4 separate regions of the Homo sapiens genome follow, and regions 1, 2 and 3 are each linked to region 4. Evidence: promoter capture Hi-C in 16 types of primary human blood cells and fetal thymus (Javierre and others, 2016). All regions are on one chromosome and are shown on one strand. Each heading gives the region's core, a stretch centred on a gene start or on the middle of the fragment in contact. The rest is flanking DNA. Distances are from core to core; before and after follow the strand shown. Region 1 has its middle 55 kb from the start of PCED1B. Region 2 has its middle 37 kb from the start of PCED1B. Region 3 holds the start of ZNF641 (zinc finger protein 641). Region 4 holds the start of SLC48A1 (solute carrier family 48 member 1).

Evidence for each region. The method cuts DNA at HindIII sites, captures the fragments that hold promoters and counts their contacts. A CHiCAGO score of 5 or more calls a contact.
Region 1: a contact is called between a fragment that was not itself captured here and the fragment with the promoter of SLC48A1 in region 4, in 1 of 17 cell types (naive B cells). The highest score is 5.0, in naive B cells.
Region 2: a fragment that was not itself captured here is called in contact with the fragment with the promoter of SLC48A1 in region 4 in 1 of 17 cell types (total B cells); the score reaches 5.2 in total B cells.
Region 3: the fragment with the promoter of ZNF641 here is called in contact with the fragment with the promoter of SLC48A1 in region 4 in 5 of 17 cell types (neutrophils, M0 macrophages, fetal thymus and 2 more); the score reaches 7.7 in neutrophils.

What each region holds. Positions count from the first base shown.
Region 1 is chr12:47,022,093-47,027,774 of GRCh38, reverse strand. No RefSeq gene overlaps it. Among named protein-coding and RNA genes, the nearest start is that of PCED1B, 55 kb to the left of the region's middle. The HindIII fragment of the contact is 3,725 bases long and covers 1-3,173 here.
Region 2 is chr12:47,040,061-47,046,150 of GRCh38, reverse strand. No RefSeq gene overlaps it. Among named protein-coding and RNA genes, the nearest start is that of PCED1B, 37 kb to the left of the region's middle. The HindIII fragment of the contact is 2,502 bases long and covers 1,125-3,626 here.
Region 3 is chr12:48,348,081-48,354,185 of GRCh38, reverse strand. ZNF641 (zinc finger protein 641) reads left to right here and starts at 3,267. Exons shown (of 6, transcript NM_001172681.2): 1 at 3,267-3,400; 2 at 6,071-6,105. The coding sequence starts at 6,096. RefSeq lists silencers at 2,757-2,836, 3,117-3,546 and enhancers at 2,512-3,248, 3,687-3,756. The HindIII fragment of the contact is 6,093 bases long and covers 1-5,901 here.
Region 4 is chr12:47,771,988-47,778,234 of GRCh38, reverse strand. SLC48A1 (solute carrier family 48 member 1) reads right to left here and starts at 4,997. Exons shown (of 3, transcript NM_017842.3): 1 at 4,795-4,997. The coding sequence starts at 4,930. RefSeq lists enhancers at 3,765-4,269, 4,270-4,776 and a silencer at 4,522-5,131. The HindIII fragment of the contact is 7,379 bases long and covers 592-6,247 here.

The sequences.
Region 1 (5,682 bases), core at 62-2,561, 750 kb after region 4:
AGTGCCCTTTGATATCGTTTTTATGGCTATTTTCGTACCTTTTGCTTTTTAAAGAAATTAAAGCAAGAACATCCAATAAATAAATAAACAAAAAGTTACAAGTGCTGAGGGAAATACATTTTCCTTAAAATTATGTCTGCTGTAAGAATATTTTACCATACTCCAAATGAAGAGAATAGCACAGATACATCTAGAAACACGCATCATAGCTAAAACTTTTTCCAAAGGGAATAGCAGTTAATATCCTGTAGTGCCAAATCCATTTTTAACCAACAGGGACTTTACCAAGGGAGGTCCCTAACCCCCTAAATCTTAGGAAGAACTCTAAATGTCCTAAGTTGGGTCTCTAGCCTTGTTCCGTCCTTTACCCAGGATAAAATGTACTCTACCACTTACGCAAAGTCAGGCAAGTGGTGCTGAGCAGATAATTTTCCTTTGGGTTTGGGTCTCTTCCGTATAGTCCCTCTGTGGTTTGCCAGGAAGATGTTACTGGAAAGCGGTCCTGATCCAGACCCCAAGAGAGGCTTCTTGGAGCTCATGCAAGAAAGAATTTGGGGCGAGTCCATAGGTAAAGTAAGAGCAAGTTTATTAGAGAAGTAAAGAAACAAAAGGATGGCTACTCCATAGACAGAGCAGCCAAGGCCTAAGACTTTGTTGTTGTTGCTGTTGTTTGACAGAGTTTCACTCTGTTGCCCACGCTGGAGTGCAGCGGCATGGTGTCAGTTCACTGTAATCTTTGCCTCTGCCTCCTGGGTTCAAGTGATTCTCCTGCCTCAGCCTCCCAAATAGCTGGAACTACAGGTGTGTGACACCATGCCCGGCTAATTTCTGTAGTTTTAGTAGAGGCGGGGTTTCACCATGTTGGCTAGGCTGGTCTCAAACTCCTGACCTCAGGTGATCCACCTGCCTCTGCCTCCCAAAGTGCTGGGTTTACAGGCATGAGCCACTGCGCCTGGCCTGCCTAAAACTTTTTGACTAGTCAAAGTGTTTTTCATGTCTAAAACATAACAATTTAAATAATGATGTTTTTCTTTGTGAATGCTATAAGATTACGCTTTATAGAATATTAAGATCTGTGGCTTGATAACAGCTGTTGCCCACTTGTTTGGATTATTGGTTTACTTGTCTGCCTCCTGAACTGAGAGCTCTTTGAGGACAGCTATGATGAGGACCATGGCCAGCATACTGTGATCAATAGTAGAGGGCTGAGAGATGCTCCTTCACTAGGGATTTGCAGGACTGCTAGAAATTAGCCACATAGAAGAAAAAAACGGAGTCAGCACATTTTGGGCAGAAAGCAAGGTATGTCCGAAGGAAGCTGTTGCTGTGAGAAGATGATATGTTTGGGAAAATTCAGGCTGTTTAGTAGGGCTGCCCTGTCGAGATGTGCAGGGAAATGGGGACAAAGGAAGGCAGGGTCCACTACGCACAGAGTCAGGGTTATTAAGAGATGACGTTTCAGCTTTATCCTGAAGGCTACAGTGAGGAGCTTAATCAGGTCTATAGTTTGGCAAAAGCACTCTGTCATCTAGGTAGAGGATGCATTAGAGTGGGGAAAAGACCAGAGACAAGGAGTTCAGTTAGGAGACTATCACAGTAAATCCAGGCAAGGTCTCACGATGATTCTAACTACTGTTAAGTCAGTAGGTATATTGAGGAAGGGACAAACTTATTTGAGAAGTAATTAAGCAGGAGAATCTATTATAATTCTGCTAACATAGTAAACATGGTATGCCCTGAAGATAGGCTGCTGGGGTTCAAATTTTGCAGGCTCTACCGCAGTGCCATGACTTTGGATGAGTTGCTTAGCTTATTTGTATCTCAGTTTTGTCATCTATAAAATGGGTGTAGTAACACAACACAGTGGATGATTGTGGAGATTATATAAAATAATAGGTGAAGAGCATTTAACTCTCTGCTTGCCATACAGTAAGTGCTCAGTATATATTTGTTATTTTTTCTATTGACTGATTAGACTTGGAGGTTGAGTGAGAGGACAGATCTAGGTTGGTTCACAGTTTTCTGGCTTGACAAAGTATAGGATCATTGAATGCTCGAATCTGCATTATTAATATTGAGTTGTCTCTCCAGACAGGATAGTCCATGTTGATAATCCAGCCACAGTTATATATCAACTCCAGTCCAAAAAAAATTCCCCAAGAGTAACTATTAATATGTTCCATTTCACTTTATTTGGGATTACTAAGATTGTTAAAAGAAGATGATAAAAGACGGAGACTGGGCACAGGGTGATGAAGAATGCAGAGACCTTCATTTGGTACTGGCAGTACATTCAAGCATCTTAAGTTTAAACTGGGAAGAATCTCAATCATTTCTTGGACCAGCTACCTAAAACTAATAGAAAAAAGGCAATGTTTGAAAACTAAATGGATTTTTGGCATTCAACAGCTAGAGAAAATGAGTTTGGGGGCTGAGGGTTTGGGGGAGGGAGGGCGGTATTTTATAAAGGTCACTGTCCCAAATGGAAGTCAAATGCTTCATCTTCTTTAACTGCAACAGAATACAGCTTTTTCAAAAAATGAATAACCAGTGAAGGATATCTTGGTTTTCTTTCTTACCCATTAGAGATAACTGATAAAAGTTAGGCAATAGAAGAGCTAGTTGGTAAAAATTCATATTAATTAATTTGTTGGTAAAATTATATATTCTTATAAATTATAATAAAGCCATAATGTAGAATTATAATTATATCAAAATTATAAGTTATTTTGTTGGTAAAAATTCATACTATTTTATGTCTCCTTGGTGGCTACTCTGACACATTTTCTTTAGTTTTTTTTACTAGATCTAAATGAATCAGAGGGCAAAGATCTACATTTATCTTGTCAATTTCCCCATATCCTAATTATATGATATAATTATTGTATTTTATAATTATTTTATGTGTACATAATATGTACTTAGCATATATATCATATAATTATTGGATATATTATATTTTTCTTGTATCTTTGTCTCAATGCTACAAAGAGAATAATAGTAAGGATAATAAATTACTTTCTAACATTAGCTCTGACCATCATACACTGTAACAGAGCTTTGGCCAATGCGTGGGCAGTGGCATGCTGGAGCTGGCTGTAGTAGCAGCTCAGAAGAGCTGATTGCGAGCATTTCTTTCCAACTCCTTTTTCAGTGACCTCAAGCTGGAAGCTTAAAATGAGACATAGTGGGAGTAGTTATACCATAAATACAGTACAAATCAGGGCTTTTCCTCCTAACAAACTAGTTTACCAGCACATCATTGATTAAATGTCAGAAATATATATATATAAAGATCTATTTTGTGTGGTATCAGGTGGCAGGAGAGAGGAAAAGGAGAGGTTTTGATTGCTGGAGAAGTGAAAGGGTCTTGAATTCAGCATCAATTCATAAAATTGGTTGAATCATAGAAATCTGCTAAGCTTCAACTATTTTTGTTTACAACATATCATATGGTTCAACCTAATACATGAGGCTGCAAGTAACAGAAACCCCTACAAACAATAGCTTATATAAATAAAACTTTTTGTCACATTGCAAGGAATCCAAAGGTAAGAAACGTCCTGATACAGCTATTCAATGAACTCAGCGATGCTGTCAGAGACCTATCATCCTGTTGCATCATCCTTAGAAAATTGACTTTTGTCCAGGTGAGATGGCTCACGCCTGTAATCCTGGCACTTTGGGAAGTGCAGGTGGGCAGATCGCCTGAGGTCAGGAGTTCGAGATCAGCCTGGCCAACATGGTGATACCCCGTCTCTATTAAAATTACAAAAATTAGCTGGGCATGGTGGTGCATGCCTGTAGTCCCAGCTACTAGGGAAGCTAAGACATGAGAATCCCTTGAACCGGGGATGTGGTTGCAGTGAGCCGAGATCATGCCACTGTATTCCAGCCTGGGCCACAGGATGAGACTCCGTCTCAAAAAATAAAAGTTGACTTTTGTCCTCAGGCTTGTCATCTTATGGTCACAAATGTCTGCTGTGCCTCCAGGGACTATGTCTTCATTGCAGGCAGAAGAGAAGAGAAAGGCAAAGGCTGTCTTCTGTAAGTTTATCAATGTTAATCAGAAAGACAAAAGTTCTTTTCTATGTTATCTGTGTTAATCAGAAAGACAAGCCCTGGAGGCTCATTCAAAAACTTCTGCTTTCATCTCATTGACCAAAATTTGTCACTTCATTCCCAGACAAAGTTACAAGATTACTAAGATTACTAAGGCTGGTTTAGACCAATCATAATTTATCCCTGGCCCTGGGATGAATCACGATTGGTTTAAACCCATCCATAAATACTCGACAGAGGGAAAGATCTCAGCAGCCACCTGAACGAACTTAAGGTTCCATTGGCTTGGGGAGGGAGGGGTGGATATAGGAAGAACAACAAAGGAGATCTATCACAATGCCCTTGAATTATGAATCCAGGAATCTAGAAACAAAGTAACAAGCTTTCCCATTTCTTGGTTTAGCTATGTAAAAGTAGTTCTATGTGTGTGTGTGTGTGTGTGTGTGTGTGTGTGTGTGTGTGTATCAGTGGTTGTTAAGCATTGTATTTAATTAGCATGCAGCTCAAAAAGTAGTTTGGCAAAATTTATATATTATATGATCACAGCATTAAAATTTATTCTTGAAGTCTCAGTCTTTACACTTTAATCTTTACGTGGCACAGTGGTCTGTTTACAACTTTTAAAAAAGATTGAGAGGGCCTTAAAGTAACATCACTGATCTAGCACGTTGGCCTAATAGATTGTTGGGAGAAGATAATGATATAAGATAAGGTATGTTATAATATAAAAATTTCTGAATAAAGAGCCTAATGCTAGCCATTTTAAGGAAAGCAGAAGGAGTAAATATACTCTTCTGCAGTGGTGATGGCATCATTTAAAAACTCTCACAAGTTATTTACCTACCTTGACATTGCAGGATCATGTTATCCAAGTGATTTGTAGTCTTGCCTCTGGAATAATGGCAGATCAACCAGTATAAAACCCTGGGTAATATACTAGTCTGAGTTAACTGTTTATACTTCGCTTTCCTGTTGATTTACCTATGGCAAATAAGACAATGCATGTCAGTTCTGCTCTTGGCTAGACTTTGTAGAGTAGTAGGTACAATGCATGTTTTCCTGACATGGTTATAAAGTATTTTTTGTCACATTTATAAGCACGGCTTCAAAATTGGACACACTTAGGTTTTATCCAGAAGCTGCCCTTTACTGTCAATGTGGCTTAAAATAAGTTATTCAATGACTCAGCCTGGTTTCTTCCTTTATAAAATGAAACTTTATCAGGTTGTGTGAGGACTAAGTAAGAAAAGTATGTAAAGTATTTAAATCACGTGGCACATACTAAGAACTCAATTAAATGGAGGTGGTTTTTGTTTCTGTTTTCCTGTGTTTGCTTTAAAGAAAATTTTTCTGAAATGATTGCATTAGTGATAACTGCTCCTTTAATAATAATAAATAAAATAGATGTTTAAAAATAATAACAGAATAATAACTGTTATTTCCAAGGGCAAACAAACAATAACTAATTCTTACACTTCTTTTCAATACTATCTGTATATGTTTGGAGAATATGATTTTACTTTTTTGTCCTTCTGTCTTCAACAGCAAAACCATTCAGTCCCTCATTACTTGCCTATGAAAAATGATGTAACGATTAAAGGAATCTCTTGTTTGACTTTG
Region 2 (6,090 bases), core at 1,126-3,625, 730 kb after region 4:
ATTGGTACTGATCTACTTTCTATTATTCATCTAACACAGTTATTAGTTCTAGCAGAAATTCAATATTTTAGTTTGAATGTTTTGGCCCCTCCAAATTAATGTACTGGAATCTTAATCCCCAATGCAATCGTGTTGAGAGGTGGGGCTTAATGAGAGATGTTTAGGCTGTGAGGACTCTACCTTTATGAATGATTGATGCAACTACCAAAATAACTTTCAAGAGTGGGTTCTCTCTCTTCTGCTCTCCTGTCATGTAAAGAAGAGAGTTTCTCCCCTCTGGAGGATGCAGCATTCAAGGCATCATCTTGGCAGTGGAGACTGGACCCTCCTCAGACACCAAACCTATTGGTACCTTAATCTTAGACTTTCCAGCCTCCAGAACTGTGAGAAATAAATTTCTGTCCTGTACAAATTACCTAGTCTTGCATATTCTGTTACAGCAACACAAAACAGACGAAGACTCTCAATATCAAATCAATGTTGGTTAAGCATTTTTTAATTTTCCATGGAGATGTTATTAGTTTTATTTACATTTGCACATTAAACTGTCTGGTAGAATTAACAGATGGTCTGATCAGTAATTGTCCTTTCCAGAAGCCACCACTAATGGCTGTTAACACTCTTTCTTCTCTACTCACCTACTTTTATCCACTGGAGTACTTTTTAAAGCAATTATACCTCAAATATACTTCATTTCCTCAGATCCAAGACAAAGTATCAAGTAATTCAAAAGTCTCACTTAGCAAGACTGTTTTTCTTTTATATTTTGGAATTATACCTGGCATATTTTTGTATTTCAGGCAATTGGAAGGGATTGAATAGTATCCCATACAAAGTAACGTGCACCCAAACTTTAAAATGTCATGTTTTTGCCAGTAAGGTCTTTGTAGATATAATTTGTTAAGGATCTTAAGATGAAATCATCCTGGATTTAGGTTGAATTTTAAATCCAATAACTGTTGTCCTTGTAAGAAGAGATGACATAGAGGGACACACAGGAAAGAAGGTGATGGGAAACTGGAGGCAGATATTGGAACTACGCTACCACAAGCCAAAAAACTCCAAGACATGCCAGCAACACTAGAAACTAGTAGAGAAGCATGGAATGTTTTTCCCTTAAAGCTTCCAGAAGGAACTAACCTAACCCTGCTGACACCTTGATTTTGGAAGTCTGGCCTCCAGATGTGTGAGAGAATAAATTACTAGCATTTTAAGCCACCTAGTTTGTAGTAATTGGTTATGGCAGTACTAAATCTTTAAGAAACAATCTTTATTTTATACGAACTACTATAGAAAAAAAGAAAAAAATTATTTAGTTTATTTATACATTTAGTATAATTTTGATAATAAAATAAGAGTAATGCAAGATAAAAATAGTAGGTCAATTATACTTATAAATATTATTTCATAAAAATATTTGCAAATCAAGTCCAGCAACACACAAAACAAAAAGATAGTAAATGGTTCAACATTTAAGACCTATGAATATATGACATTAACATTGTAAAGAAAAAAATTATAAGGTAATCTTAAAATATGTAAAAAAAAAAAGAGATAAAATTCAACACTCATTTTTCCTGAACATGTCCATTGATGTGCGTATTTCCTTAATATGTACTACCAATTACTAAAGGACAAGTTCAACCAAATATTTAATAAATAATAATTTCAATTTTACAAAAACTCTTTTAGGTTATAGAAGAGGAGGAAACATCCCCAAACTTATTTTATAAGGTTAGCATAATCTTGATAGCAAAACTAGGCAAGGACAGCATAAAGTAGAAAACTTACAGACCAGTCTTATTCATGAACATAGATATAAAAATCCTAAACAAAATCTTATAAAGCCAAATTATATAATGTATAAAAAAGTAAATATTTTATTATCAAGTTGAATTCATTTCAGGAATACAAAGTTGATTTAATATTAGAAAGTTAAATTATGTTATTCACCCCACACATAGTAAAGAATTCAACTTTGTCCGAAAAGAAGTCTGGTCTTTGTCCTTGGCTTCTGAGAGGTGATGGGTAAATTGATGGAATATCATGGTTGATAGGAGTGTCTTTGTTTGGCTGTGAGCCTTGGGTCACCAGATTGTCTAAAAATATGATTTAAGATGGAGAATGGCTACACCAGAAAGACCAGAAATGTGATTTAGCGTGGGGGATTTGGGTCATGTCTGGAGAGGGTGGAGGCTGAAGATTGAAATCAGCCACATTGGCAATCGCCCATGTCTACATCATGGAGCCTCAATAAAAAGTCTGAACACCTGGCTCTGCTGAGCTTTCCTCATTAGCAATATTTTGTGCACATTGTTATACTTTGATATTTGAAAAGTAATGTGTCCAGGACTCCATGGAGAAAGAAAAACAGAAGCTACATGTTTGATACTTTTCCTGGACTCTGCTCTAGGTGCCCCTCCTTGACTGACTTTAATCTGTATCCTTCCTGTAATACACTCTAACCTGGATTATAACAACTTTTAGTGAGTTCCAGGAGTCCTTGTGGATTAGGTAACCTGAAGGTGGTTTTAGGAAGCCCCTAAACTTGCAATTGCTGTCAAAAGTGAGGACAGTCTTGCGTGGACTATGCCACCTCAAACTGTGCAGTTGGCTAACCAACTCATGCCCCATTAACATATTTCTTTTTTTTTTTTTTTTTTTCAGATGGAGTCCCACTCTGTCTCCCAGACTAGAGTGCAGTGGCACGATCTGGGCTCACAGCAAACTCTGCCTCCTGGGTTCAAGTGATTCACCTGTCTCAGCCTCCCAAGTAGCTGGGATTACAGGCACCTGCCACTGCGCCCAGCTAATTTTTGTATTTTTAGTAGAGATTGAGTTTCACCATGTTGGCCAGGCTGGTCTTGAATTCCTGACCTTGTGATCCACTCACCTCAGCCTCCCAAAGTGCTGGGGTTACAGGCGTGAGCCACCGCACCCCGCTGCACCATTAACATATTAAAGAATGAAAGCTATATAATGAGCTAAGTAGACACATTGTATTAGATAAAATTTAATATCCGTTTATGGTTTAGAAAATCTTAAGCAAACTAATAATGGAAGAAAAATTTCTTAAACGTGTAAATATTATCAAAAAACTACAGCAATATTATACTTAATGGTGAAAAATTTTAAGTTTAATATAAAATAGGTAAAGATGTTTATTATTACTACATTTGTTTAACACTCTACTAAATGGCCTAGATGGTATAGTAATGTGAATAAAAAAGTAAAATAAAAGGAATTAGGAGTTAGAATGAAACAAAACAAACTGGTCATTATTTATGGGTAGTATAATTGTCTACAAAATAAAAAGGAAATTGCATTTTTATACACCAGCAATGATCAGCTAAAAATGTTATTAAAAAGATTATACTATGTAAAACATTCTTACCTCTACGTTTGTTTGCATTTGTCAAAATTCAACAAATTGTGCACTTGTATTTGTCTATTTTACTGTATGTATATTTACCTCAAAAATGAACTGTAAACAAATATTTAAAAAGTAAAAAACTTTAAAAATATTTATACTATTTTAAATTACAATAAAAATAAATATTTTATCCAAGAGAAAAAAAATCTAGTGGGAGATGTGTAAGCCCATATCTGGTAAAAATTATAAAGCTTTATTAAACGACATTAAATAAAACCTAAACAAATGAAGAGATATACCATATTCATGGATAGTCAGATTTAATATTGTATTGACATTAATTTTCATGAATTGATTAACACTCCTAGAATCCCAACATCACAAGTTGATTTTAAAATTTATATAGACTAGCAAAGGACCAAAAATAACCAAGACAGTTCTAAAGAACAAGATGGGAACTTGTATGATCAAATATCAAACTTTATTATAAAGCTATAGTAATTAAGACATTGTATATGGCACAAGGAAAGGTAAATGGAACATCATAGAGAGCTCAGTACTAGACCTACACACACATATATATAGACCATAGTCAATGTTAAGGAGAAAAAAAATCCAAGGAAGAAGGGGGAAGGAAGGGAAAATAGTTGAAAGAAAAATATTTGGCTCAGTATATATACATTTAATCACAGTCAAAATGATTTTTCTTAATATTTATGAAATAGAGGGGCATAACATATGGATAAATCACAGTTCAGTTTTCGTACTGCAGGGTCTCTTTTCTTTCTTTTTTTCTTTCTTTCTTTCTTTCTTTCTTTCTTTTCTTTCTTTCTTTCTTTCTTTCTTTCTTTCTTTCTTTCTTTCTTTCTCTTTCTTTCTTTCTTTCTCTTTCTCTCTCTCTCTCTCTCTCTTTCTTTCTTGACAGGGTCTTGCTCTGTTGCTCAGGCTGGAGTGCAGTGGCACAATCTTGGCTCACTGCAACTTCCACCTCCCAGGTTCAAGTGATTCTCCCACCTCAGCCTCCTGAATAGCTATGATTATAGGCGCACACCATCATGCCTGGCTAATTTTTGTATTTTTTGTAGAGATGGGGTTTCACCATGTTGGCCAGGCTGGTCTTGAACTCCGGACCTCAGGTGATTTGCCCACCTCTGCCTCTCAAAGTACTAGAATTACAGGTGTGAGCCACTGCGCTCAGCTGATTTTCCAAGCTTAAGATTCGTGTATGAATGCAAAGTCATATATCCATGAAGCCAGAGCTGCCAAGGAATATTCTGCGGGTTTCTTTGTAGTTCAAGGTCCTAGTAATGAACAACTATGAGTCATATTGTATTGTTATGAACTTTGTGAATGTGAACTAATATGAAAAAAGTGCTGTCCAGTTTTTTCACAACTATATACACAACTATATACAATATTCTCTGGAATTGAGACAATTAATTCTTTATATTTTCATCTTTTTTGTTAGATCAAATGCACCATTGTAACTCAATATTCAGAAAGTTTCTACTCAAAAACAGTTTCAGGGCATAGTCTACTTCTATGCATTTAGGGGAGTACTTTAAATTTTCTTTCATTACGCTAATAAATTTTCTGTTGTTCGTCATTCTCCTATGGCATTCATTTTCAGAATGGAAAGATTAACAGAATATTTCTCCAAGGCAATACTGACTTTATTTTAGGTTGCTTTATTTTATAGTGTCAAATAAAATAAATAAATCAGTGTAAAAAGTTATATATATATAATGATATATTAATATGAATAATTGATAATGTGTAAGAATTGATTTCCAGAATTGAGTCTGGTTGGGCCACACTCAAAATTGGTCCTTTTACATCTTTTTAAAAATCTTATCCACTTTATGGAAGATATCTTGGAATATATAAATGAATAGAAGTTTCTACAACATTATTTGGAATCTTCCAAAGAATGACTGGTTTCATTCTTATTTAATATTTTAATAAGCATAAGTCAACCACTTCAATAGGTCCTACAAAGTTATAGTTGGAGTTGTACTAGTTATAGATGTGTGGTTGTTAGTCATATTAGATAGTGCTTCTTGGGCCACTTGGGATAAAATCTAATGCAGAGTAAAATTTTCAAAAGGATTATTTCATTCCAAATGAAGAGTTCAGCTCATGTGTAGACTCTATTTAGAAAAACGATTAAATGAATAACTACAATTGCTTTCTTCTTACAGTTACTCTTAAAATGCTGTGAAAGATTTTATCATTGATTTTGCACCAAATGTTTTTGCAAGATTTTCTCACTGGAGTTTTGTACCTGCAGCCACAAGCTAGTGTTTTAGAGAGTTAAATAATGTGTGGGGTAATCTACATTTGTTATTATTAGATGGCCACTATTGCAAGTGGCTTTATTTGATAGCATCATAACTGATTACCTGAAAATGTGAGCCAATAGCTGACCCTTCAAGAAAAAATCAATTTGCAATTTTCACTGTCCACACTTCTGCCAGCTAACAAATCAACTGCAGATCTCTGTTCAGCCCCAAAAGGCACTTAAAATGGGAAATGAAATAGCCTTAAGTTTCCTCCAGGATGATCCCATTTAGCCACCAACAGAGAGGAAGTGGACTAGATGACAGAAGGGCAAAATTTGTTTAAGGGAATAGGGAAAGATTTAATGAAAATCCAAAGACCCACAGGAAAGGGATAAACCTTCCCACTTCAGTGGCTGGCCCCAAAAATCCCAGTTA
Region 3 (6,105 bases), core at 2,018-4,517, 580 kb before region 4:
AATACATACAAATGGCAAACAGACATATGAGAAGGTGCTCAATATTACTGATCATCAGAGAAATGCAAATCAAAACTCCAATGAGATATCATCTCACTCCTGTTAAAATGGCTTATATTCAAAAAGCAGGCAATAACAAATGCTGGTAAGGATGTAGAGAAAAGGGAACCCTCATACACTGCTAGTGGGAATGTAAATTAGTATAACTACTAGGGAGAACAGTTTGGAGGTTCCTCAAAAAAACTAAAAATTGAGCTCCTATATGATCCAGCAATCCCACTGCTGGGTATATACCTAAAAGAAAGGAAATCAGTTTATCAAAGAGATATCTGCATTCCCATGTTTGTTGCAGCTCTGTTCACCATAGCCAAGATTTGGAAGCAATCTAAGTGTCCATTAACAGATGAATGAATAAAGAACAAATGGTACTTACACACAATGGAGCACTATTCAGCCATAAAAAAAGAATGAGATTTAGTCATTTGCAACAACATGGATGGAACTGGAAGTCATTATGTTAAGCGAAATAAGCCAGACACAGAAAGACAAACATCACATGTTCTCACTTATTTGGAGGATCTAAAAATCAAAACAATTCAACCCATGGAGATAGAGAGTAGAAGGATGGTTACCAGAGGCTGGGAAGGGTAATGGGGGAATGGGGACAGTGAGGATGGTTAATGGGTACAAAAAATAGTTTGAATGCATGAATAAGACCTAGTATTTAATAGAACAACCTAGTATTTAATAGACCTAGTATTTAATAGTTATTATAGTCAATAATAACTGTACATTTTAAAGTAACTAAAAGGGTATAATTGGATTGTTTGTAACACAAAGGATAAATGCTTGAGGGGATGGATACCTGATTCCCATGATGTGATTATCATGCATTGCATACCTGCATCAAAATATCTCATGTACCCCATAAAGATATTCACCTATTATGTAACTACACAAATTTAAAATTATAAAAGTTATTTTTAAAAAGAAAAGGTTCTGGTATAAAGAAGATGATACCATTCAGCCTCTTTTTTTTTTTTTTTTTTTGAGACGAAGTCTCATTCTGTTGCCCAAGCTGGAGTATTAGTGGCACGATCTCTGCTCACTGCAACTTCCACCTCCTGGTTTCAAGCGATTCTCCTGCCTCAGCCTCCCAAGTAGCTGGGACTACAGGCACGCACCACCATGCCCAGCTAGAGACAGGGTTTCACTATGTTGGCCAGGCTGGTTTTGAACTCCTGACCTTGTGATCCGCCCGCCTCTACCTCCCAAAGTGCTGGGATTACAGGCATGAGACACTGCACCTGGCTTTTTTTATTTTTTGGAAACAATCTCACACTGATTTGTTTCCCAAAACAGTCGAGGAGAGTTTGGGCTATTATAATATCTATCAGTTCTTTCCAAACATTCTTTTCAGGTAAAGTCAGGTTTACGTACTTGGTTATGTTCAATTTAACTCTGTGTGACGAGGCAATGCTGTGTCCAGCAGCGCCCATTTCCTTTTCCATGAGGCACACATTCTTTACTTCCCAGCCACCCTTCTGGGTAGGGCCATGTGACCATGCGCATGAGTTCTGGCTAAGGGAATGGGGTGAAAATGATACACACCACTTCCAGGACTGGCCCCTAATATCTCTGACAAGTTAACCACGGCCAGCCTCCCTTATCTGAGGGCCACAGATTTGACTACATTACCAAGGCCTCGGCATGGGAGAACCACCAAATGCAAGAAGCCTGGTCCTTCAATGAATTCAAGAAGTACAGACCCCACCCTCTGGCCCCAACCAACTTGTTACCACACTGTGACTTGTATGAACATAAGCCTTTATGGAGTTAAGCCCCGAGATACTGGTTTTGCTAGCCTACTCCAATTAACGCACCTTATATTTACCACCAGTGGTAGCATAAGTGAAAAGAACCCCTGGACTTAGTTCCAGGACCCGGGATAAAAATTCTGGCTCTACTACTACCCCGACATATCCCATGATCTGCTCCTAGAATATGCTCTATACTCTTCCCAACTGCGTGTCTACTGCATTTTCCTCTTTCATTAGACAGCCCTCCTGACTCTTCTCTGCCTCACGATTTCTGTCAGAGTGGGGGGCCTTCTCTGACCTCCGTCCCATACGTGGTCACTTCTCTTTGCTTCAAGTGCAGCGTACGTTCCTCTGTTTTAGAATCTACGTTTTTATTGCAAATATTTGTTGACATGTGCTTCCCCAGACTGTGAATCCTTTAACTCCCAGCATTTAGTTACAGTGTCTGGCACACGTAGAAAATAAATATGCATTAAACGAATGATTGTCACATATGACCTTAAGTGAGTCAATTATTTTTTAAGTCTACTAAATAAAATTTTTGAAAATTGTTGTAATGATGAAATAAGGAATGTGAATGTGACTTGTAGGTTATAAACAGATTCTAACAGCAATGGGTTTACTCACTGTTTGTAGGCCCTTCTCATCTTTTCTAGTCAAATCCATCTTAATGCTGCAAGGTAGCACTATCCAATAGAAATATAATGCAAGCCATATTTATAGCCACATTTAAAAAGTTAAAACCAGGTGAAATTAATTTTAATATATTTAACCCAATATACCCAAAATATCACTTTTTAAATTAAATCTTCTAAATCTTGGAACACATCTCTATTCAGACCAGCCACATTTCGAGAGCTCAGGTGTCACCTGCGGCTACGGCTCCCGCAAATGGGACAGCAGCCGCAAGGCCAACTTCAGATAGCAACCTGACTTCCCCTCAGGCAGAATAAGTGACTCCTCCTCAGTGCTCTCTCAAGCCCTTTATCCTATCGTGAAAACTAGAGGGTACGCTCCTTGAGGAATTCCAGACTGTTGTCTGGAGAAATCGCTCTCGGCCTCGGTCTGGCCTGTAACGGGCGGTTACGCAATTCCAGGTAATTGACGAACCCTGAGGACAGAACTCCGTGGGAGGCCCAGTAGCCAGAGCGGAAAATGGTCAGTCAGGCAAGAGTGCGGGCAAGTGGCCACAGCAGGCTGCGATTCCGGCGCCCGCCGCCCTCCAAGCGTCTCGGGCCGCACCCTCCCCACAGCGGCGGGCGCGGAGGTCCCGGGTTCGCGTTTGGGGGCGCCTGAGCCGCAGCCCCGCCCCCTCCCGTCCCTCCCTCCCTCCCTCCCTCCCACTCCTCTCCCTCCCACTCCTCTCCCTCCCACTCCCCGCACCTCCGCCGCCGCAGAGCCCCGGAAGCGGGCGGGGATTTCCTGTGCCCGCCCCGCCCCGCCCGCGCCTGCCGGGCCGCCGTCTCCGCCTGTCGCTGGCTCCGCCGGCCGCCGGCTCCCAGACGCAAGCGGAGGGCGGAGGGGAGGGGCAGGCGGCGCCCGGGAGGGAGGCACCGGGCCGCGGGCCAAGCCTACCGGGGGTGAGTGGAGCCGGGCCGGAGGGAGCTGCGGCTGGAGGGAGGGACGCCTGGCTTCCCGGGGCGGCTGGTGGGGGCTCGGTCACCCATAGGGGCTGGGAGGAGGATCGGCGCGTCTTCCGGGTTGCTGCCTTTCCCGGGGGTCTGCCCCGCTGACATTCTGTGCCCGCCTCTCGCCCTGTCTCCCCGTGCCCATCGCAACTGTCAGGCCCTGCGGGCTCCCGCCGCTGTCACTCGCGCACAGGTTACCCCGTGGCTCCCTTTCTCTTCACTTGCTCATGCCCCAGCTCATGGGAAACCTGTTTTCTGACCTCACTTCCCCTGCTCCAGTTCTGCCTTGCTCGGATTCTCTGAAATCTGACCCTTTCCAGGGGCACTGTGACAAGAAGAAGGGAAGAAGCAACCTTACCCCTGAGCAGGCTCCCGTCCCGCCCATGCCCTACCCGTGGCAGGGGCCAGGGTTCTCTGATGGACGGAGCCAACTCGTCCGTGTGCCCTTGGGCTACTCATTTTTATAACATGGCCCCTTTTCTGTTCATCAGCACTGGCTGCAGAAACTTCCTTTTGCAGGTCCCTTGCTACCCATATGTGTGAAGAAAAGGGGGAAATGAAAGCCCTAGAACCCACACTGCAGTGGGCATGGGATCATCCTGGAACCAGGAGAAACGAGGTTAGGGCTACCACCTTAACCGCCCAGGTGCTGGCTCTGCGTGAATATCTTAGGAAATGCAAGCTGAGGACAGGTACCCATCCCATCCTTTGCTGAGATTTTTGCTAGCACTTCCACGGATTTCTGTCAGTGGTATAGAAAAACTTACAGCTGGCCCAATGGGCTCTGCACAAAGAGGCTTCCCATTAAGAGACTCTGCTACCTGGGGGAGATGGAGAAAGGGTTTGAGACAAGTGTCCAGATATGTAGCTAGAGGTAAAGCCTTCAGGGAGGATTTGCACAGGAGCTAGAGAACCAGAAAGATGGGACGAAGAGGGAGAATTAGTGCCCTGTGTGTTAAAAGTGGATACAGAGCTGGAATTCAGAGAAGAGAGCTAAAATGGAAGTTTCCCTTTATTGCTTTAGCAAGAATTTTCCTTTCTCATGAAAAGTCTCTGAAAAGGAAACCTCCTAGGCTGGGAATCAGTCCAGGGTGCTCCCATGAGGCCCTGAGCCATCTTTGGACTTCTGAGATAAAAAGGGAATTTGTTTTTCCTGTGCATTGGGCTTAGGGTTCCCACCTACCTCTTTTGTCAAAGACAAATAGGCAAGAAAATAGACGACTTGACATCTGTGATTACCTACCCTGGCCTTCAAGGTTCTTGCAAGTGTTATTGAAAGGATGTAAGTAAGCCAGGATAGTTACCAAGTTTCTGACTGCTCTTGGAAGCCTTTCACTGACTCTGACTGTTTGGATATTGAATAAGAATACCCAAAATATGTTGCCAAACAGAAAGAGATTCTGAGTCTCAGATTATTTCTCTGCCATAAAGCCCTATCACAACAGAAGTGTGACCCATCCTGCTCTTAAGTTGTCTAAAGAAAAAGAAGAGCCCACTATCTGGTATTGTACACTGCAGGATTATTAAGAATTAAAAAAAAATAACCTAAATCTCTTCTCTTGCAATCAAGACCCATTTTTTTCTGTTTGACCTATATAGAGATAGAAGGGACCTCTGTTTTTATTCATTAGTAGCATCATTCATCAGCCTTCTTCTCCAGACAGAGAAAACTACATCCGACATTTTTAACTTTCCCAGTGGCTGTATTTCCAATCCCTTTCTTGACTTTGATGTTTTCTGATGAACACACACTGGCTTCACCATACGCTTCTTTCAAACTGAATATATTTTTCTAATGAGATCTGACTGGTGCCTGACAAATAAACAGGTTTGTTCTTCTGGGTCATGTTAGCAGCAGTTCTTCCCCCCTTTTCCAGCTCTGGTTCAAACTCTTTCTGTTCCTTTTTACTTTTCCTGATTAAACTTCAGCTCCTCACAGACCAACAATTTCTCTTACCTCTTAGGATTACTTTGGAGTCTTAACACCTGCTTTCCAAGTTATCAGTTTTTCTACCATATTTACTACCAGTTTTCATTGGATGGTAGACCAAGTGCCTTTTTATTGAGGCTTGTCCCAAGTGAGGTACCTTTTGGCCCAGCCTCATGATACAAATACGCCCCTTGGTTGGGACTTTTACCTATAGTAATCATTTCATTCTAAACTGATGAGACTGTGATTTGTGGCAGAAAATCTTCTGTGTGATTACATCCATCTTGTTGAGTGCAGGTCTATATGTATTTCTTCCTGTATGTTTCCAAATTGCTTACTTTCCTGTACTTCATGTGCTTGAAATTAAATGGATAGCCTTTGAATTTCCAGGACAGTTCTTTTTTTTTAAATGAACTTCTTCTAACCTTCAGGTATATTCTGTTTCTATAATGAGGTCCACAAAATACCAGTTAGTGGCTTTGCTACGTAGCACCTGCCAATTTCTTAGTTCCTCCAAGAAGCTTGGTGCAGGCTCCGTTGATCGGAACACATCAAGCTTTTAAAGTTCATCTTCCAGCAAGCTCCTCCTATCTAGTTTTGTCTATTATCCCTGGGCCTGTTCTTCATAACTCCCTTAGAAATATCACTCCTTTCCCATTTTCATGGGCATTGCTGATATGAATTTGTTCCAGGTCACAATTTGGGTCTGCAGCAGAAATGCTTTCAG
Region 4 (6,247 bases), core at 3,748-6,247:
CTGCGCCTGGGTGGACACTTCCTCTAGGATGCCAGCTGCCACCCAGCCAATACAATACAAAACAACCCTCTGTGCCAGGCAGTGCCTGCTGGTGCAGCCCAAAGAGTGGAACAAATATCAACTCCATTGGCAAGGGTCCGGGCAGGGCGGTGGATCCCGGCAAGGGACAAATGAGGAAGGAGGCAGAGCCAGCTGCAGGCTCTCAGCTGGTTGGGTTGCAAGGTGTGGGCCACTCAGGCCGCTGCATCCTAGGAGTCAGGAGGCCTTTCCAAAAGGCAGCTGCACACATGCCACTCAGAGTAGTTACCAAATGTGCACAGGAAGGATAAGCATCTGGTTGGGGAAAGTGGTTATCTCTGGCAATGGAGACAAGGAAGGGAAGTTGATGGGGCGGTGGGGGTGGGGAAGTGCTTTGAATCTATGGGAATCTATGCTATTTTGTTTCTTAGGCTGGGTGGGAAATCTATGCTATTTTATCTACGCTGTTTTCTCAGGCTGGGTTATAAGGGTGTTTGTTAAATCATCTATCCTTTTTTGTGTGCCTAAAATATTTCATAATTTGTTTAAGGGGGAAAAAGGCAGGAGGAAGCTTGTCACTGTGGAGCTATGCTCTGGTTACCAGCTCAGAGGCTGTCCCAGTTTGGCTGTCCCCAGACAGTCCAGTGAGGAACAAAAACCCATGAGACTCCAAGCCAAGAAACCAGGAGCCTGGCACTGCTGTGTCCCAAAGCCTTGGTGTTTCCACATCTAAAAATGGGTGGGCCCAGGGGTCCTGCCAGTTTAGGTAACTGGGCCCAGGGTTCTACCCTAGTGAGGGTGAAGGCCTACCAAGCCTACAGCTTCCCTCAGCCCCTGCCACCGTTTGACCCCCTGAACACTCTCCCAGCTTTGCCCCTGCCCACCTCCACTCTTCCTCAGGGGGTGGGGGCCTGGAATGTGGGTCCCCCTCCTACTGAGATCAGGGTGGGCCAGGACAAGCATCTGTTCCTCCCCACCTAGTCTGGATGCTGGAGTGGGCCAGAGGTGGACAGGACAATCATCCTGCAGCTTCCTCTTACCTCCTACAAGATCTGGATTTTTATACCAGCCACCTTTCACAGAAGTCCCTCCCACTCCTCACATGTGTCCCATGTTTTCATTTGAGGGAGCTGTTTGGTTTATAAAGGGCCCTGGGAACAAGGGGTGTTGTCACTGAGCACACTCAAGGAGCAGTCTGATGGGCACCTGTCTGGAACAGGTCCCCTCGCCCTCTGTCTCCTCGTGCCACAGAGGGGTTGGGGAAGTTGAGCTCTAAGATCCTTTCCCACTCAAAGATTCTAGAAGCCAGCTTGGGAGAAAAATAAGGTCAGAACAATTCCTCTGTGACTCAGCAGTTTCTGGGTTAGGAAATGCTGAAATAGGGGCCTGTGAAGATGCCATCTCTTAGTCCACTGGCCACGATCCAGTGGTTCCCCAAAACTCCCACCCCCATGTACATGCACATACCAAAGAGGGCTGAGGGCAGGAGGGAGAGGAAGACAGCCATTTGGGGGCGTTTTGGGCCCTGTTCTTTGTTAACAACAGGCATGGTTTACCCACCTCTCACCTTCCCTCAACCTTGCTCCAGGCCCTGCACAGAGGCCTCCCCTCCAGATAAACACACATCAAGTGTGGAGGCAGGCCTGCTGCCCACGCCCTGGCTCCCACCACCCTCCTGGGAAGGGAGCTCTCCACCAGCCCTACCCAAGGGGGTCACTGAAGGAGATGGAGCCCCTCACTGGTCCCCTCCCACACATCAGGCAGGAGGCAATGTATCTCCCTAATACCCTTCCCTGGCACACTTGGGGACTCTAGGAAGCCTGGTTTATAAAACTCGGGGTGGAATGGACAGGTCCCCAATCCCACCTGGCTGCAAGCCCACACCAGACCACACCGTTGCTCCATCCTACCTGTTTCAAGGAGCAGAGCCCCTGCTTAGCCATGTGAGCTTATTGGCTCACAGCCGATAAGCTAAGGGTAAGGAAGGCATAGGGTAGGGCGGTGAAAGCATCCCCAGTGGCTGGGCTGGAGGTGAGGAGACAGGAGACACCCGGGGGATCCCACAGGGTAAATGCAGACAAGAAGGACACTGGGCCTAGGTCAGGCCCCTCTATTCCTTCCTAGGAGGAAGACAGTCCTGGAGCCCCAGGGCTCTTGCTCACAGCTCACCTGGGAAAAACATAGAGCTGTTTAGACTTCAGGAGCAACTTTTCTTTTTCTCTTTCCTTGGTCTACTAAACCCAGAGCAAGAGTTTGTGTTTTCCCCCAGGACTCCCACAGCAAAGCCAGACCAGGTAGATCCAACCCACACCTGCCCGCCTCCCCAGGAAAGCCAGTCTTGCTTCTGCCACTGCCTTTCTCCAAAGCCACTTCTTCGAAGGTACCCATCAGGATGGGAGAGGGTATCCCCACCCGTGAACACTCTGCCCACCAGACCCAGGGGCTCCATGACTCTGCTCCAGAAACTGGCACATCCAATCAGTCCTTGCCTGGTCCAACACAGGAGAAGGAGCATGCTGGGGCTACCCTTGGGTGACTCAGCAGATTCTGAGCTATAAAACGCTGAGTCAGAAGTAGGGTGCTCACACGTTAGTTAATCTGCTGACACTTTACCCCCAAAAGAGGAAGAAGGTTGACTGGCCACAGACCCTCTGAGAACTCACTCATGGTGGGGAAGGTCGGAGGCCCAGGCTTGGCAACCCCTCTCCCTGCCACCATCCACCACCACCACTACCAAGCAGTTTTGGCTCTTCCACAGCCACTGTCAAAGATCAGACCATCAGGGAGATACCAGGACCCTACTCCAGCTGGCTGCTGCCCTAGCGAGCTGCTGCCCTAGCGAGCTGCTGCCCTAGCGCCTCTCTCTGAAGGCAGCTCCACAGCTGGCCTGCCTCATAGGCCAAGGGAAGCCTGTGGGGAGGGAGAGAGGGCAGAGTTGGGTCGGAAGAAAACCCCAGGCAACTCCCTAGAGTATAAGAAAGAAGGCCTTTTCCACAGCCCTCTAGGAGGCAGCTGGAGACTCAGGGAGTGGGCAGCACTGCAAGATTTCAGATCTGGAGGGAAGTCAGATGTCTTTTGGGGACATCTCCTCCCACTCCTAATAGATGAGGAAACTGTGGCCCAGGATAGGGTCAAACGGCCAGGTAGGGTTCACCTCCACTTGTACCAGGCCAGACTCAACACAACCAGCTGAGATCCCAGGCTGGCCCTCCCTGCTCATCCTTCTCTTGCCTTCGGTCTTCGCAATGCAATCATAGGGCTCTGACGCCGCCTTCCAGAGGGGAAAGCAACAGGGCCAATAGGAAACAAAAAAGTGGCAGGGAGAAGTGAACCTTGACAAACATGGAGGGTGGCGGGGTGCAGTGGGGAAAGGAACTAGGGCTCTGTAGATAACGCGCAGAGATGGGCCAGTTGTCCTCAGGATCCCACAGGTGGTGAGGCAGCTGGGCAGGCAGAGAACACCCTAGCCAGGGTGCCCATCCCCCCTTCTTGGTGACCCAGTGCTTTGTTGGCATTGTGTAGGGTGGGGCCCTGTATGCCCCTCTTCTAAGGCATTAACCCCACCTCATGCTGCGACTCTACCCAGGGATGGCACTCAGCACTCCCTGTGGCAGTGAGTAAATTAGTTATTTTTAGTTATTCCATTTAGGGTTCTTTTGGCCGAGGATTTTAGTAATGGAATATAATCATCATATGTAAAAGTATTATACGTATTTTCTTCCCAAAGTCCTTTCCCACACATATTATTTCATGTAGCTGTGTAATCCCGGGTAAGCAATTTATTTAACTTCAGGCCTCAGTTTCCTTATCTGTAAAATGGACATAATCGTAAGGCCTACTTCATGAGACTAATGTAAGGATTAAATGAAATAAGGGAAGCAGGTTGCTTAACATAGTGCCTGACACATAGAAAGCATTTTTTAAAATGTTAGAAAGTAGAGATAATATTTTTCATCTTCATACCAATTCTATGGCGCAGAGAGGTTAAACTGCGAGCCCAAATGTGCACAACAAGGAGCACTGGTCAGCCCAGAGCCCCCATCAGCGCACCGATGCTTCCCCTTCCCTCCCAGAAGCACAGAAAGGGCGGCTGGCCTGCAGGATTTGGCAGAGCTTGGCTGAGGAGCCACAGCAGACGGGTAGCAAAAAGGCACCAACATGGGTGGAAAGAGAATGTCCAGTTTCTATGAGATCCCTAACGCCGTCCTCCCTGTGGGTCTCAGCAGAGGGCTCTGCGGGGGAGCCCTCTGGAAGGAGGGAGATGGGCTTCCCCAGCCACCCCTAGCCCTCTTCCTTTCCCACTTCTTCCCTCTCTGCCCTCACCCAGCACCCAGGGAAGGGGCGCCTGGGGGGCAGGGGATCCCTCAGAACAACCGTGTGTGTGTGCGTGTGTGTGTGTGTGTGTGTTTGGGGATAGGAGGCGACCAGCGCCGCGGGCGCGCGGAGGGGACACTGTCGTGGGGCAACTGGGCGGAGGGCGACAGGCAGTGTGCCGTGACAGATAACCCGGGCGGCGCGGCAGGTCTGTGCAGCCGGCAGTGGCGGGCCGTCGGCACCCCCAGGTGGCGCCCGGGCGGGCATCGGGTCTCAGAGGCACCCAGGAATGCCCAGGAGCCCGGGCCCGCGTGGGGCCTGCCGCCGCCAACCGCTGTTTTCGAGTAAACACTCCACCCGCTCCGCGGGGAAGCGCCGCTCGCGGGGAGCGTCCTGGAGCAGCTGACGGCGCCCGCCCCGCAGCCGCGCACCCGCCCCGCGCCGCCCAGCGTCCCGGGGTACCTGCGAGCCCTCCCATGGCCGCGGTCCCCGGCTGTCGGTAGACCACCGTCCAGACGAGGAAGATGGAGAAGCCGGCCACGGAGCTGATGCCGGAGTAGGCGGCGCGGAGGCCGAGCTGCAGCCTGGACGGGGCCATGGGGCTGCGGCGCCGGGCGGGCCGAGGGCGAGCGCGGCCGAGAGTCACAGGTGCAGGGCCCGAAGCCGCCAGCCGGAGCCGCGGGAGCCGCCAGAGCAGCCGGCGCCCCGCGCTCCGCCCCCGGCCCGCCCCCAGCGCCGCCCGCACAGCGCCCTCCCCGGCCGGAGGCCGCCCGCGCCCGGAACCGCAGACGCCACCGCCGCTTTGCGAAGCTGCCGTGTCGTTTGGGGGAATGCTGCTAAAAAGGCGGATTCCTGGGCCCATCCCCAGACCCGCCGTGTCCGGATTGTTGGACCTTGGAAGGGACCGGAAATATGCCTTTATACGAGCGAACCGCGAGGATTAAAAATCTTTACCTCTGAGTACGATGCGTATTTTCGTTTAAAATTAAAATTAAAATTTCTTGTTAAAAATTAATAGGTAAAACTTAAGAAATATTAGAGTACGCTGTGAATAGAATTCCTTCCGCCCGTCCTTCTATCAACCAGGTTCCCTCCCACCATATCGCAGAGGATTTCTCCACACACTAAAGTCTGGGAACCCCTGCGACCATCACCTTCTGACTGCAAACATTCTATACATTCTATCCTCACGCACAGCTCCCCACAAATCCCTACTTTTTTTTTTTTAAACAGAGTCTCACTCTGTTGCCCGGGCAGGAGTACAGTGGCGCCATCATAGCTCCGCATCCTCCAACACCTGGATTCAAGCAATGCTCTCACCTCAGCCTTCCAAGCAGCCAGGACTACAGGTGTGTGCCACCACGCCTGGCTAGTATTTTTTGTTATTTATTTTTTGTAGAGATAGGGTCTCGCTATATTGCCCAGGCTGGTCCCCAACTCCTGGCCTCAAGCTGTCTTCCCACCTCGGCCTCCCAAAGCGCTGGAATTACAGGCTTGAGCCACTGCAACGGACCTCACCTTTCCTTTTATCAGCACAAGCCTTATCCTCCCAAACCCCTCACCCTGACCCTCGGGATCATACCATTGTAAGGAAGAGACAGATCTGTAGCAGGAGGGCACTGAGCTCCCACGTGAGCCCAGCTTCCGGCCGGGAGCTGGAGGGAAAATCCCAGCACAATAACAAGGGCTCTGCCACAGCACTAAGGATCCACATGGGGAGGCCCATCATATACCTGCACAAAACATAACCAATACCCCTTGCATTAGTTTTTTTTGTGTGTGTGCTGCCGTAACAAATTACCACAAATTTACTGATTTAAAATAACACAAACTTATTATTATTTTACAGTTCTGTAGGTCAGGAATCCAAATAATGGTCTCACTGGGCTAAAATCAAGGGGACATCAGGGTTGCC